Regions from separate parts of the Homo sapiens genome. Here region 1 is linked to region 2. Evidence: promoter capture Hi-C in human tissues and cell types (Jung and others, 2019). All regions are on one chromosome and are shown on one strand. The core of a region is centred on a gene start or on the middle of the fragment in contact, and the rest is flanking DNA. Distances in the headings are between cores, read along the strand shown. Region 1 has its middle 9.2 kb from the start of MIR4448. Region 2 holds the start of HTR3D (5-hydroxytryptamine receptor 3D).

What was found. Contacts are between HindIII fragments. The study calls those that stand out against the background at their distance.
Region 1: a contact is called between a fragment that was not itself captured here and the fragment with the promoter of HTR3D in region 2, in 2 of the 25 tissues and cell types used here (IMR-90 fibroblasts and aorta).

Annotation. Positions count from the first base shown.
Region 1 is chr3:183,892,888-183,899,109 of GRCh38, reverse strand. It overlaps the pseudogene CYP2AB1P. Among named protein-coding and RNA genes, the nearest start is that of MIR4448, 9.2 kb to the right of the region's middle. The HindIII fragment of the contact is 5,560 bases long and covers 1-4,181 here.
Region 2 is chr3:184,027,531-184,033,474 of GRCh38, reverse strand. It overlaps HTR3D (5-hydroxytryptamine receptor 3D), which reads right to left and starts at 1,733. Exons shown (of 8, transcript NM_001145143.1): 1 at 1,668-1,733. The coding sequence starts at 1,733. It also overlaps the pseudogene EEF1A1P8. The HindIII fragment of the contact is 22,402 bases long and covers 1-5,944 here.

The DNA of each region.
Region 1 (6,222 bases), core at 152-2,651, 130 kb after region 2:
TTTTTTTTTTAATTTGTAGTAAAGACGGGGTTTCACCAGGTTGGCCAGGCTGGTCTTGAACTCCTGCCTCTGCCTCTCAAAGTGCTGGGATTACAGGCATAAGCCGCCATGCCCAGCCCCATTATTAACTTATTATTAATTTGCCCAGACTTGAGGTTCCTTCCTCCACAGATTTTTTTCTTCACAGAAGCCCTATCCTTCGGACGCTTTGTTGCTGTTTCTTTTCCATAGATAGAGAAACTTCAGCATAGGCAGCTTAAGAAACTGCCCAAACACAGCTAGTAAGTGACTTAGCTGAGTTTCAAATGCATGTCCCTCTGACTCTAAAGTGTTTTCTTTTCCTACCATATGCCCTGCTGTTTGTATTTATACGAAAATGCCACTCTAGGTAAGTGAACCAATGTGTTCAATGGAGATGTTTTACACTGTCATTCTGTCCTTGGCAGAAATTGGCCAGCAAGTTTACAGGTTTGTCAAGAGTCTCTGGGAAAGTGGATAGGACCAGGGCATCAGGTCATCTTGCTGCTGGCGTGGCAGAAGGACCCAGGCCCAGGTTGTCTAGAAGCTGTGCCAACTTAAGTTAAAAAGAGGGGGCCAGGGTACTGCTCTGTGTTATGCCGTTTGGGATTAGAAATTTCCTTATTAAGAGCTCATTCCTGCCAATTTGATTCTAGGACTTGTTCTGTGATAAAGGCTCCAGGGGCCCATTAACGAGCTGAAATCAATATTGAGCTTTTACAACTTGGACGAGAGATGTCTGCTGAAAGTGGAATCAAAGCTTGACAGTAGATCATTAAATGTTACAGATATTCCTAAACTGTTCCTAACCATTTCATCAGCTGAGTGATCGTGACAACAGCAATAGTCCCTGATACGACGGTTGCACTTCCAGCCTGTCTCTCTTCTCAGACATTCTATTTGATTGCGAATTCCAAATTGCCATTTACTGGGCAGAAGCTGGCACAGCGACCCCAGGAGGTACCCAGCAGGTAGATGGTTCTACAGTCTGGGGAAGTGGAGGGCGGTTGTTGCGGGGGGCGGGGCGCTGTCCTTTTTGCATACTGGATAGGCTGTGCTCTGAACCTGTTCCATGAGCTGAGAACCTCCTTTGCAAGGAGGCCAGAACATCACCCAAAAAAGGACACAAATAATTCTGGAGGGAAAAGAGCATCTTGCTAGGAGCCTCCTCCTCTGAAGGTGATTAGTAAGAACCGTTGCAATGCAGAGGTTACTTAATCCCAGGTAGAGAAAATGGGGGAATTCCCATGACTAGAACTGGGAAATCTATAGCTCACTCAGGCAGCAGCAAGAACACAGGCCTCCCCAACACCTCTGCTTGAAGCTACAGAGTGAGCAAGTCTGGGTGCCCTATTGGTACACATGGCTAGGATGAGGCACCTTGCCTAAGCGTGCCGTACTGCAACAACGGCAAAAAAGAACAATTTCCCCTGAAAACAATTTCTGCATTCTGTTTTTTTTTTTGTTGTTGTTGTTTTGTTTTTTTAGATGGAATCTTGCTCTGTCGCCCAGGCTGGAATGCAGAGGCGTGATCTTGGCTCACTACAACCTTTGCCTGCCTCAGCCTCCCGAGTAGCTGAGACTATAGGCACTTGCCACCACGCCCGACTAATTTTTGTATTTTTAGTAGAGATGGGGTTTCACCGTGTTGGCCAGGCTGGTCTCAAACTCCTGACCTCAAGCGATCCGCCCTGATTGGCCTCCCAAAGTGCTGGGATTACAGGTGTGAGCCACTGCGACCAGCCAGCATCTGCTGCTCCATTTCTGCATTCTTTATTGGTTTCTGTTTAGAATGCAGGCTTCAAACTCGCTAAGCTTTTTTTTTTTTTTTTAATTTCAAGCTTTTTCTTTGGTCAGAATCAAGAATTCTGTAGTCAGCCCTCTGGTCTCTACAGGGATAGCTGGTTTAATTTTGTGGTATTTGGTAAATGAGCCCTGGGGTATGAGGCCTTCCCCGGAATCCCAGAGCTGAGTGTTCTAGGGCTGGGGACCATAACCGACCCCATCCTGGCTCCACTTTGGCCTCCTTATGCTGTTTCCGGTCAGCCCAGGGCCCACATGGTAAGGAGCAGATGTTACCCTGCTCCCATCTGCTTGGTCTGATTCTCTTTCTAATCACTCACTTCTCCTTTGAGATAGAGTGAGGGCTGAGGTGAGGGTGAGAGGGAAGATTTGGGTTTGGGTTTGGGGGAAGGTGAGGGTTGGGGTTAGGTTGAAGGTTAGAGTTGGGCTTATGGTTCATGTTTTCCTCTCCCCAACCCTAAAGAGTGAAGCTTGCTGTCTCCTCTCTGTCTTTCCATCACTCAGTTCCTCTTTCTCTGCTTGTTTGCCATTCCATTTCTCCTCGTTCTGTCTCTTCCTCTTAACACCCACGTGTGCACACATCCCCTGCCCCAGTGTGTATTGTCCTGGGCTGTCCTTGGCCCCTTCCAGACATGCCCCCAGCTGTTGGCCTTCTCTGTAGGAGGCAATGGCTTCATGTCCCTAGACGTGGCTGGGAGTCTTCAGGACAAAGCTGGGCAGTCCTTAGCCAGGAGGGTGTCCTGCTCAGCTCCTTCACTGATGTGAGCCTGGAGGAAGGGCAGCCTGAGGGCCGGCTGCTGAGTCTCCTCAAGGCCCCTGGACTACTCCCACCAACACACTGGGTATTCTCCAAGCTCACTGTGGCTCAGTGTCAGGGCTGGGTACTGGGTACCATCTGAGGCTCCCTGAGCCACACCAGCATCTCTCTGCAGGGCACCATCATCTTACCCAACCTGGCCTCTGTGCTCTATGACCCTGAGTGCTGGGAGACCCCTCGACAGTTCAACCCTGGCCACTTCTCGGACAAGGATGGAAACTTTGTGGCCAATGAGGCCTTCCTGCCATTCTCTGCAGGTACTAGGCACAGAGCTGGATCCTGGGTGGTGGGTGGGGCTGTGGTGGGACAGACACAGGGACAGCTGCCACCTCTGACTTTTCTCTCTGTTTCCAGGGCATCGTGTCTACCCAGCAGACCAGCTGGCTCAAATGGAGCTCTTCCTGATGTTTGCCACCCTCCTCAGGACCTTTCGGTTCCAACTGCCAGAAGGGAGCCCGGGGCTCAAGCTGGAGTACATCTTTGGCGGCACTTGGCAACCCCAGCCCCAGGAGATCTGCGCAGTGCCCCGCCTGAGCAGCCCCAGCCCTGGTCCTAGGGAGGATGGCCTGTAGCCACTGGGGGTCTGGAGGCCTGTCCCCCATGAAGTCCTTCCTCAGTCTCTTTTGGTTCCTGCAAAGTTAGAAAAGAGGAGGACCAGGGGTTCATGCAGCTCAGCTGCTCATGGTTGCCCCTAACACAAGCTCTGTGGGGTGACACTGGAGAATAGACTTAGCAAGGATTCTACAGAGGTAGCTCAGTTTGGGTAGTTCAATTCTTAAATTAGGTTAGTTATGCTTTGGCAGGCGAAGATTTTATAAGATTGGTTAAGTTTGGCATTAAATCAGTCCACAAAGTTAATATTGGGGAATCAAGCCTCACAAGGCAGCAGCTAACTAGGTTCAGAGGAAAAGGCAAACTTTCGAGCAAAACTATGAATATAATAATGCATGCAAATGCGAATACTCTAGATGCCGGGGACTGGTAAACCAAAAAAAAAAAAAAAAAAAAAAAAAGTGAAGCGGGGGCAGCTTATTTTCTGCCTTCTCCTGCCCTCTCCTGACCAGAAGGAAGAACTGCAGTTCTCTGCAGACCTGGGGCAGAGAAAGATCTCACCATCTCAATACAGCAAAGCCAGCAGACCATATAACTGTTTCCAGCAAATTCTTCACCAAAGACCCACTTTAGTTTCCACACAAGGGTCCCTAAATTTTGAATCCTTGCATCTCCAGACAAGCCTTGTTTATTAAAAAAGAATGACTTGTGGCTGGGCATGGTGGCTCACACCTGTAATCCCAGCACTTTGGGAGACCGAGGCAGGTGGATCACTTGAGGTCAGAAGTTCAAGACCAACCTGGCAAACATGGTGAAACCCCATCTCTACTAAAAATACAAAAATTACCCGGGCATGGTGGCAGGCACCTGTAATCCCAGCTACTCGGGAGGCTGAGGCAGGAGAATCGCTTGAACCCAGAAGGCAGAGGTTGCAGTGAGCCAAGATCGCACCACTGCTCTCCAGCCTGGGATCCAAGAGTGAAACTGTCTCAAAAACAAACAAACAAACAAACAAACAAACAAAAGCAAAAACAAAGAATGACTTGTGAGTTCCTGGAGGCAGAGGTTGCAGTGGGCGGAGATTATACCACTACAGTCCAACCTGGGTGACAGAGCGAGACTCTGTCTCAGAAAAAAAAAGACTGACTTGCATCAAGGAAATGCAAACTAAAATCAAATGAAATACCATTACATACCGATTAGAACTGCTAAAAAGAAAACCCTGACAATCCCAAGTACTGGAAAAGATGCGAAGCAAATGGAATTCTCATACCCTGCAGGTGGAAATGTAAAAAGGTACGACTACATTGGAAAACAGTTTGGCAATTTCTTGTAAAATTAAACATTACACCACACAACCCAGCAGTCCCAATCTTAGGTATTACCCAAAAGAAATGAAAATATATGTTCACACAAATGCATATCTATGAATTATATGATTCCATTTCTGTGATATTCTTAAAAAGGCAAACCTATAGGGACAGAAAATATTCCATAGATAAGTGGCTGCCAGGATTCGGGAGCAGGGTTATAGGTTGACTGTAAAAAGACATGAGGAAACTTTCTGGGGTAATAGAAATGTTCTGTATCTTGATTGTGGTGATGGTTACACAACTGTATGTGTTTGTCAAAACTCATACAACTGTACACTTAAATGAGTGTTATTGTATATAAGCCATGCCTCAATAAATCTGAGCTTTAAAAAGGAAATGCCTCGGGCCGGACACGTTGGCTCACGCCAGTAATCCTAGCATTTTGAGAGGCCAAGGCGGGCAGATCACCGGAGGTCAGGAGTTCAAGACCAGTCTGGCAAACATGGTGAAGCCCTGTCTACTAAAAATACAAAAAAGTTAACTGGGTATGGTGGCACGTGCCTGTAATCCCAGTTATTCTGAAGGCTGAGGCAGGAGGATCGCTTGAACCTGGGAGGCGGAGGTTGTAGTAAGCAGAGATTGCACCACTGCACTACAGCCTGGGAGACAGAATGAGACTCCATCTCAAAAAAAAAAAGGAAATGCCTTACCTCTCTCTTTTGTGTTATTTAAAGGACGTACATATGAATGAACCAATGTTTCTAATTAGTAGGAGATCAATCATTACTGCTACACCAGGCTGAAAGGAGTCTAACCAGAAATAAAACATGACGTATTGGCCAGGCTTAATGGCTTGCGCCTGTAATCCCAGCACTTTGGAAGGCTGAGGTGGGTGGATCACTTGAGGCCAGGAGTTCAAGATCAGCCTGGGCAACATGGTTAAACCCCCATCTCTACTAAAAATACAAAAATTAGCCGGGCGTGGTGGTGCACACCATAGTCTCAGCTACTTGGGTGACTGAGGCAGGAGAATCGCTTGAACCCAGGAGGCGAAGATTGCAGTGAGCAGAGATCGCGCCACTGCACTTCAGCCTGGCTGACAGAGTAAGACCCTGTCTCATAACAAAACCTAACAAAAAACAAAAACCATGATGTGTGAATTAGCCTCTGGCCTTTCTTCAGGCTTTGTGAAATCCTGGAGCTTTCTCATAGATATCTTATTTTCTGTGCGGTGCCATATCCAGGGCCTCGGGAGTCCAGACTGGGAAGCACTAGGCAAGTGGGGTCCCAGAGAGCAGGAGACAGCCTGGGGTTCTCGGCCCTGGGAGGTCCCACCCTGAGCTGGCAGCTCTCTGTGATCCAGGCAGGATCTGGGGCAGAGAAAACAAAGCCAGGCTCTAATTCACCTGCTTCCTACCTCACTTTCCTAACCCTTTCTCTGTTAGAGCCCCTGTCTGGAGCTTGCAGCCCCTTCTAACACTCATCCTCTCCACCATCCAGCCTCCTGTCTTTGATCCTGTCCAGCCCTCTGCGTGTTATTCCATTGAAAGGCCAACTCCTCCAGGAAGCTTTCCCTCACCTGGACTTTGGCCTTGGTTGAAATCCCAGTTTTGCTCTCAATAACCCAGTCCTTGTGTGCTTCGGTCTCCTCATATGACAAATGGAGGCTTCCTTTAGGATTGTCGGGAGTGACAATGCCCAGCACAGGGCCTGGCGGGT
Region 2 (5,944 bases), core at 484-2,983:
TTTGCCCATTTTTGAATTGGGTTGTTTGATTTTTTTGTTGTGAGTAACTAATTTTACAAAATCCAATCAAAGGGCCAGGCACGGTGGCTCATGCCTGTAATCCCAGAACTTTGGGAGACCAAGGCAGGTGGATCACCTGAGGTCAGGAATTTGAGACCAGCCTGGCCAACATGGTGAAACCCTGTCTCTACTAAAAATACAAAAATTAGCTGGGTGGGGCAGCACGTGCCGGAGGCTGAGGCAGGAGAATCGCTTGAAACTGGGAGGCAGAGGTTGCAGTGAGCTGAGATTGCACCACTGCACTCCAGCCTGGGTGACAAGAGCAAGACTCCATCTCAAAAAAAAAAAAAAAAAATCCAGTCAGAGGGTCCACTGCTCACCACTAGACCACTGCAATGTTGGGTGAGGACTTACAACTTCCAGATGGCAGACAAGGTGAAGGAGATGTTGACATGAGTGGCGACACTGTAGTTGGTGACTGGACCAATAGCCTTTCTGTCAAACACTGCTTGAAAGGCTGCAGGGTCCACCCTGTGCTGGCCAAAGCCTGGGCAATTGATAATCAAAGTGTCGCCATTTCCTGTAGTGAGCAGAGACTGAGAGAGGAGGGCCAGGGCTGGGGGGCCTGGAGAGTGTTTCTGCATGGAGAGAAAACAGGGGGCACTGGGAGAAGCATGTGAGCTCCTCCTTCCTGGTCCAGGAAGAGTAGGCTGAGCTGGTAGGCAAATGGTGGAAACTGATGAGGTGAGCTGAGTCAAGGATCCATCCTCAGTGCCATTGTTTTGTCCCCATGCAAAACCTGTCCAGATGTGTATGCAAACTCAACCCCGACCGCCACTTTACAGTGTCCTGCCATGTCCTTAACAATCTCACTGCAACCTCTCCACCTTCTGCCAGTGTCCTTCTCTTGCTTACCTCCAACCTGGAGCCATGTGGGTGATGTCAGTGACAAATTTTGCACTCACAGTTCTCCGCCTCGCTGTATTAATATGGCATAGATGCTAATAAATTAATGATAAGGGGAGTAATCAGATAGGTAGTGTGAGATATATGGGATCTTAAGGAAACAAATCAATTTCAGTTTTTCAATTTGATGAGTATTTACTGTGTCTTTACTATGTGCTGTGATTGTTCTAACATTTAGTAGTCTTCATCACTAGGATTATCTTAAAGAGTTCCCAGGCTGGGCTCAGGGGCTCACGCCTGTAATCCCAACACTTTGGGAGGCCCACGCGGGCAGATCACCTGAGGACAGGCATTCAAGACCAGCCTGGCCAACATGGTGAAACCCCATCTCTACTAAAAATACAAAAATTAGCCAGGCACGGTGGCAGGTGCCTGTAATCCCAGCTACTTGGGAGGCTGAGGCATGAGATCGTTTGAACCTGGGAGGTGAAGGTTGCAATGGGCTGAGATATTGCCACTGCACTCTAGCCTGGGTAACAGAGCGAGACTCCATCTCAAAAAAAAAAAAAAAAAGAAGAGAAAAGAGTTAACTAAATATTAGGATCCTAGGAAGAGGTACAAAGCCATCAGTGTCACGAGCATCATTTTTACCATAACGAACATCCAATCATTGACTATCTCAGAATAAAAAATATTAGCCTGTTTTCTCTGCTTCCCAGGAGTTACATGTCTGCTCAGCTCTTGCTCTTATCTTAAGGTACTTGCAGCAGCAGGTGGAGGATGAAGCCAAGGAGGAATCCTTTCCCATGGAACCAGCCTCTTTCCATCTTCCTCTCTTTGGCACTTCTCTGGGTACTTGATGATGATGTTAACCTTTAAAAAACCTCAGATCACACCTTGAGCCCTACCTTTGAATAATATATATATCAGCTGGCATTAACCGCCTCTCTAACAAGACCCCTTGGTGACAAAAGAATGTCACAGAGGAATAACTCACCCTGTGCTTTAACTGGGCCTGAATCTAGCCTCCAAAAGTAATATGGCAAATCAGTTTGGAGAAGAGGAAGCAAAAATATGTGGTCCCTGGAGCAGTGCTAATGGCTTCCTCATACTTTAAAGTCACTCTGGCGTACAGTGCCTCACCGAGAAGGCATGGATGACTACCACTGCCTCCAGGTGGCACGTGAACTTGTTAGACCCTGCTGTCATCTTTCTTTCTTTTCTTTTCCTTTCTTCTTTCTTTCTTTCTTTTCTCTTTCTTTTTCTTTCTTTCTCTTTCTTTCTCTTTCTCTTTTTCTTTCTTTTTTCTTTCTTTCCTTCTCTCTCTCTCTCTCTCTCTCTCCCTCCCTCCCTCTCTCTCTCTTTCTCCCTCCCTCCCTCCCTTCCTTTTTTTTTTTTGCGACGGAGTCTCCCTCTGTCTCCCAGGCTGGAGTGCAATGGTGCAGTCTTGGCTCACTGCAACCTCCGCCTCCCGGGTTCAATCGATTCTCCTGCCTCAGCCTCCCAAGTAGCTGTGATTACAGGCGCCTGCCACCATGCCTGGCTAAGTTTTTGTATTTTTAGTAGAGACGAGGTTTTACCATGTTGGTTGGCTGGCCTCAAACTCCTGACCTCAGGTGATCTGCCCACCTTGGCTCCCAAAGTGCTGGAATTACAAGCGTGAGCTACCATGCCCGGCCCCCTACTGCCATCTTTCAAAAAAGAAAGCGTGTTGGGGGGAGGGGGGTCCCTATTAATATAAGCAACTTCATACACTGAGGTTTTAAACATGACTTCAGTATAGTTAAGACTTTAAAGTATGAGGAAGCCATTAGCACTGCTCCAGTGATGACATATTTCTGCTTCCTCTTCTCAAAGCTGATTTGCTATGCCTTTTTAGTGTTTCAAAAGCAATCTGGACCCAGGTCTACCCAATGAAGGGAGTGATTAGTGGAGTAGGGGGTGGTGGCAGAGGTAATACTTTTTTAAAATAAAAGCTGACTTATGATTTTTTTTTTTAAATGGAGTTTCTCTCTTGCTGCCCAGGCTGGAGTGCAATGGCGCGATCTTGGCCCACCACAACCTCTGCCTCCCGGGTTCAAGCGATTATCCTGCCTCAGCCTCCCGAGTAGCTGGAATTACAGGCATGCACCACAAAGCCCAGATAATTTTTTTTTCATTTTTTTATTATACTTTAAGTTCTAGGGTACATGTGCACAACGTGCAGGTTTGTTACATATGTATACATGTGCCATGTTGGTGTGCTGCACCCATTAACTCGTCATTTACATTAGGTATATCTCCTATTGCTATCCCTCCCCGCTCCCCCCACCCCATGACAGGCCCCAGTGTGTAATGTTCCCCACCCTGTGTCCAAGTGTTCTCATTGTTCAATTCCCACCTATGAGTGGGAACATGCAGTGTTTGGTTTTCTGTCCTCGCTCGTTTTCTCAGAATGATGGTTTCCAGCTTCATCCATGTCCCTACAAAGGACATGAACTCATCCTTTTTTATGGCTGCATAGTATTCCATGATATATATGTGCCACATTTTCTTAATCCAGTCTATCATTGATGGACATTTGGGTTAGTTCCAAGTCTTTGCTATTGTGAATAATGCTGCAATAAACATACATGTGCATGTGTCTTTATAGCAGCATGATTTATAATCCTTTGGGTATATACCCAGTAATGGGATGGCTGACGCCCAGCTAATTTTTTTGTATTTTTTGTGTTTTGTTTTAGTAGAGATGGGGTTTCTCCATGTTGGTCAGGCTGGTCTCAAACTCCCAAACTTAGGTGATCTGCCTGCCTTGGCCTCCCAAAGTGCTGGGATTACATGCATGAGCCACCACGCCCAGCTGCTGACTTATGATTTTAAAGAAAAGGTCATGAGCTATTAGCCTGAAAGTTTATGTTATTTTTGGCCCTGCTAGTGTTTTTTTTTTCTTTTTTTAAAGTTAGTTGTGTAACACTTAAACATTGAGATTTCACATAAAAACTGTTTCTGGCTTCATTTGAAAAATAAGATCTAGCAACATGAGGCTCACGTTTCTGCTTGACAACAATCTGCCAAAGCTCAGAAGTAGTGAAACCCTTTGGATGGTTCATACTCACTCTAGATCACCACAGTCTCCATCACCCCTCCTGTCTTATTCCTGAGCAGCTCTCCTCATTTATGTTACCTGGTTGGCCTCTGTAGGTGTTTGACTTTGGCTTTCAATGTTAAGAATTTCTTTTGTGATTCTTTTTTTAACTTTTTTTTTTTTTTGAGATGGAGCCTTGCTCTGTCGCCCAGGGTGGAGTGCAGTGGCGAGATCTCTGCTCACTGCAAGCTCCGCCTCCCGGGTTCACGCCATTCTCCTGCCTCAGCCTCCCAAGTAGCTGGGACTACAGGCGCCCACCACCACGCATGGCTAATTTTTAGTATTTTTAGTAGAGATGGGGTTTCACCATGTTAGCCAGGATGGTCTCGATCTCCTGACCTCATGATCCACCCGCCTTGGCCTCCCAAAGTGTTGGGATTACAGGCATGAGCCACCGCGCCCAGCCTCTTTTTTTGACTTTTAAGTTCAGGGGTACATGTGCAGATTTGTTATATAGGTAAACTTGTGTCGTGGGGGTTTGTTGTACAGATGATTTCATCACCCAGGTATTAAGCCTAGTACCCATTAGTTATTTTTCCTGATCCTCTCCCTCCTCCCACCCTCCACCCTCTGATAGGCCTCAGTGTGTGTTGTTCCCCTCTATGTGTCCATGTGTTCTCATCATTTAGTTGGTACTTATAAGTGAGAACATGCAGTACTTGGTTTTCTGTTCCTGTGTTAGTTTGCTAAGGATAATGGCCCCCAGCTCCATCCATGGTCCTGCAAAGGACATGAACTCATTCCTTTTTATGGCTGCATAGTATTCCATGGTGTGTGTACCACATTTTCTTTATCCAGTCTATCATTGATGGGCATTTAGGTCAATTTCATGTCTTTGCTATTGTGAATAGTGCTGTGGTGAACACATGCATGCATGTGTCTTTATAATAGTGATTCTTAAATAGCCTTGGGAAGTAATTTCAAAATACCATTCCATGTGTAGGTAATCATAGGTCTTATCAGATTAATGTATGTAATTAATTGGTTCATGATGGAAGCCAGACATGATAAGATTAATTGGGCCAAGGTCATCAGTGGTTTAACCTGTTTTATTCTAGAATTATTTCTGGCAGGGAAGGCTTTAGGGAAAGTAATAAGTGGCTTACAGAGCAAAGAGAGAGCAGTCGCCTCAATGAAGGTTTACAGATTGAGGTAGCACAATGTATTAAGAAATGTCTAAGACCAAATTCTTTCTACAAGAATCACGTCACCCTCTCAGCCTCAGTTTCCTTATCTCTAAAATTGGGAGGGTAAAATCTATCTTGCAGGAGTCTTATGTGGTTTGAGATAATATATGTATAGTGCCTTGCCCATCTTAAGCAATTAATAGCAGTAAATTGAAGCAGAAATAACAGTAAAAATGGCAGTAACGGTTATCCTGTCCAGCCTAAGATCGCCCAGGTTGCTTCAGCCTAAATGGAATATTCTGAACTTAAAATGTCTGGGTTCACTGCAGCAACCCCAGTTCCTGTAAGCATAAGGCCCTTTTCTCTTAGCCTCACTCAGCTGGATACTGATAGGATTCACCCTTCTGCTGTCCTCAGCATCACTCTTTATCACTGGAGAATCTCTGCCCCTTTGGAAAGTTTGTTGTTGTTTTTTTTTTCTTTTTTTTAAAAAGTGACAGTACTGTTTTTCGCAACAGGTTTGCCGCTAGAACACAGGTGTCATGAAAACTCCCAAGCCAAATGGGAAAGGAAAAGACGCATATCAACATTATTGTCACTGGACATGTAGATTCAGGCAAGTCCACCACTACTGGCCATCTGATCTACAAATGCGGCGTCATTGACAAAAGAACCATTGAAAAATTTAAGAATGAGGCTGCTGAGATGGGAAAGGCCTCCTTCAAGTATGCCTCGGTCTTGGATAAACTGAAAGCTGAGCATGAACGTGGTATCATCATTGGTATCT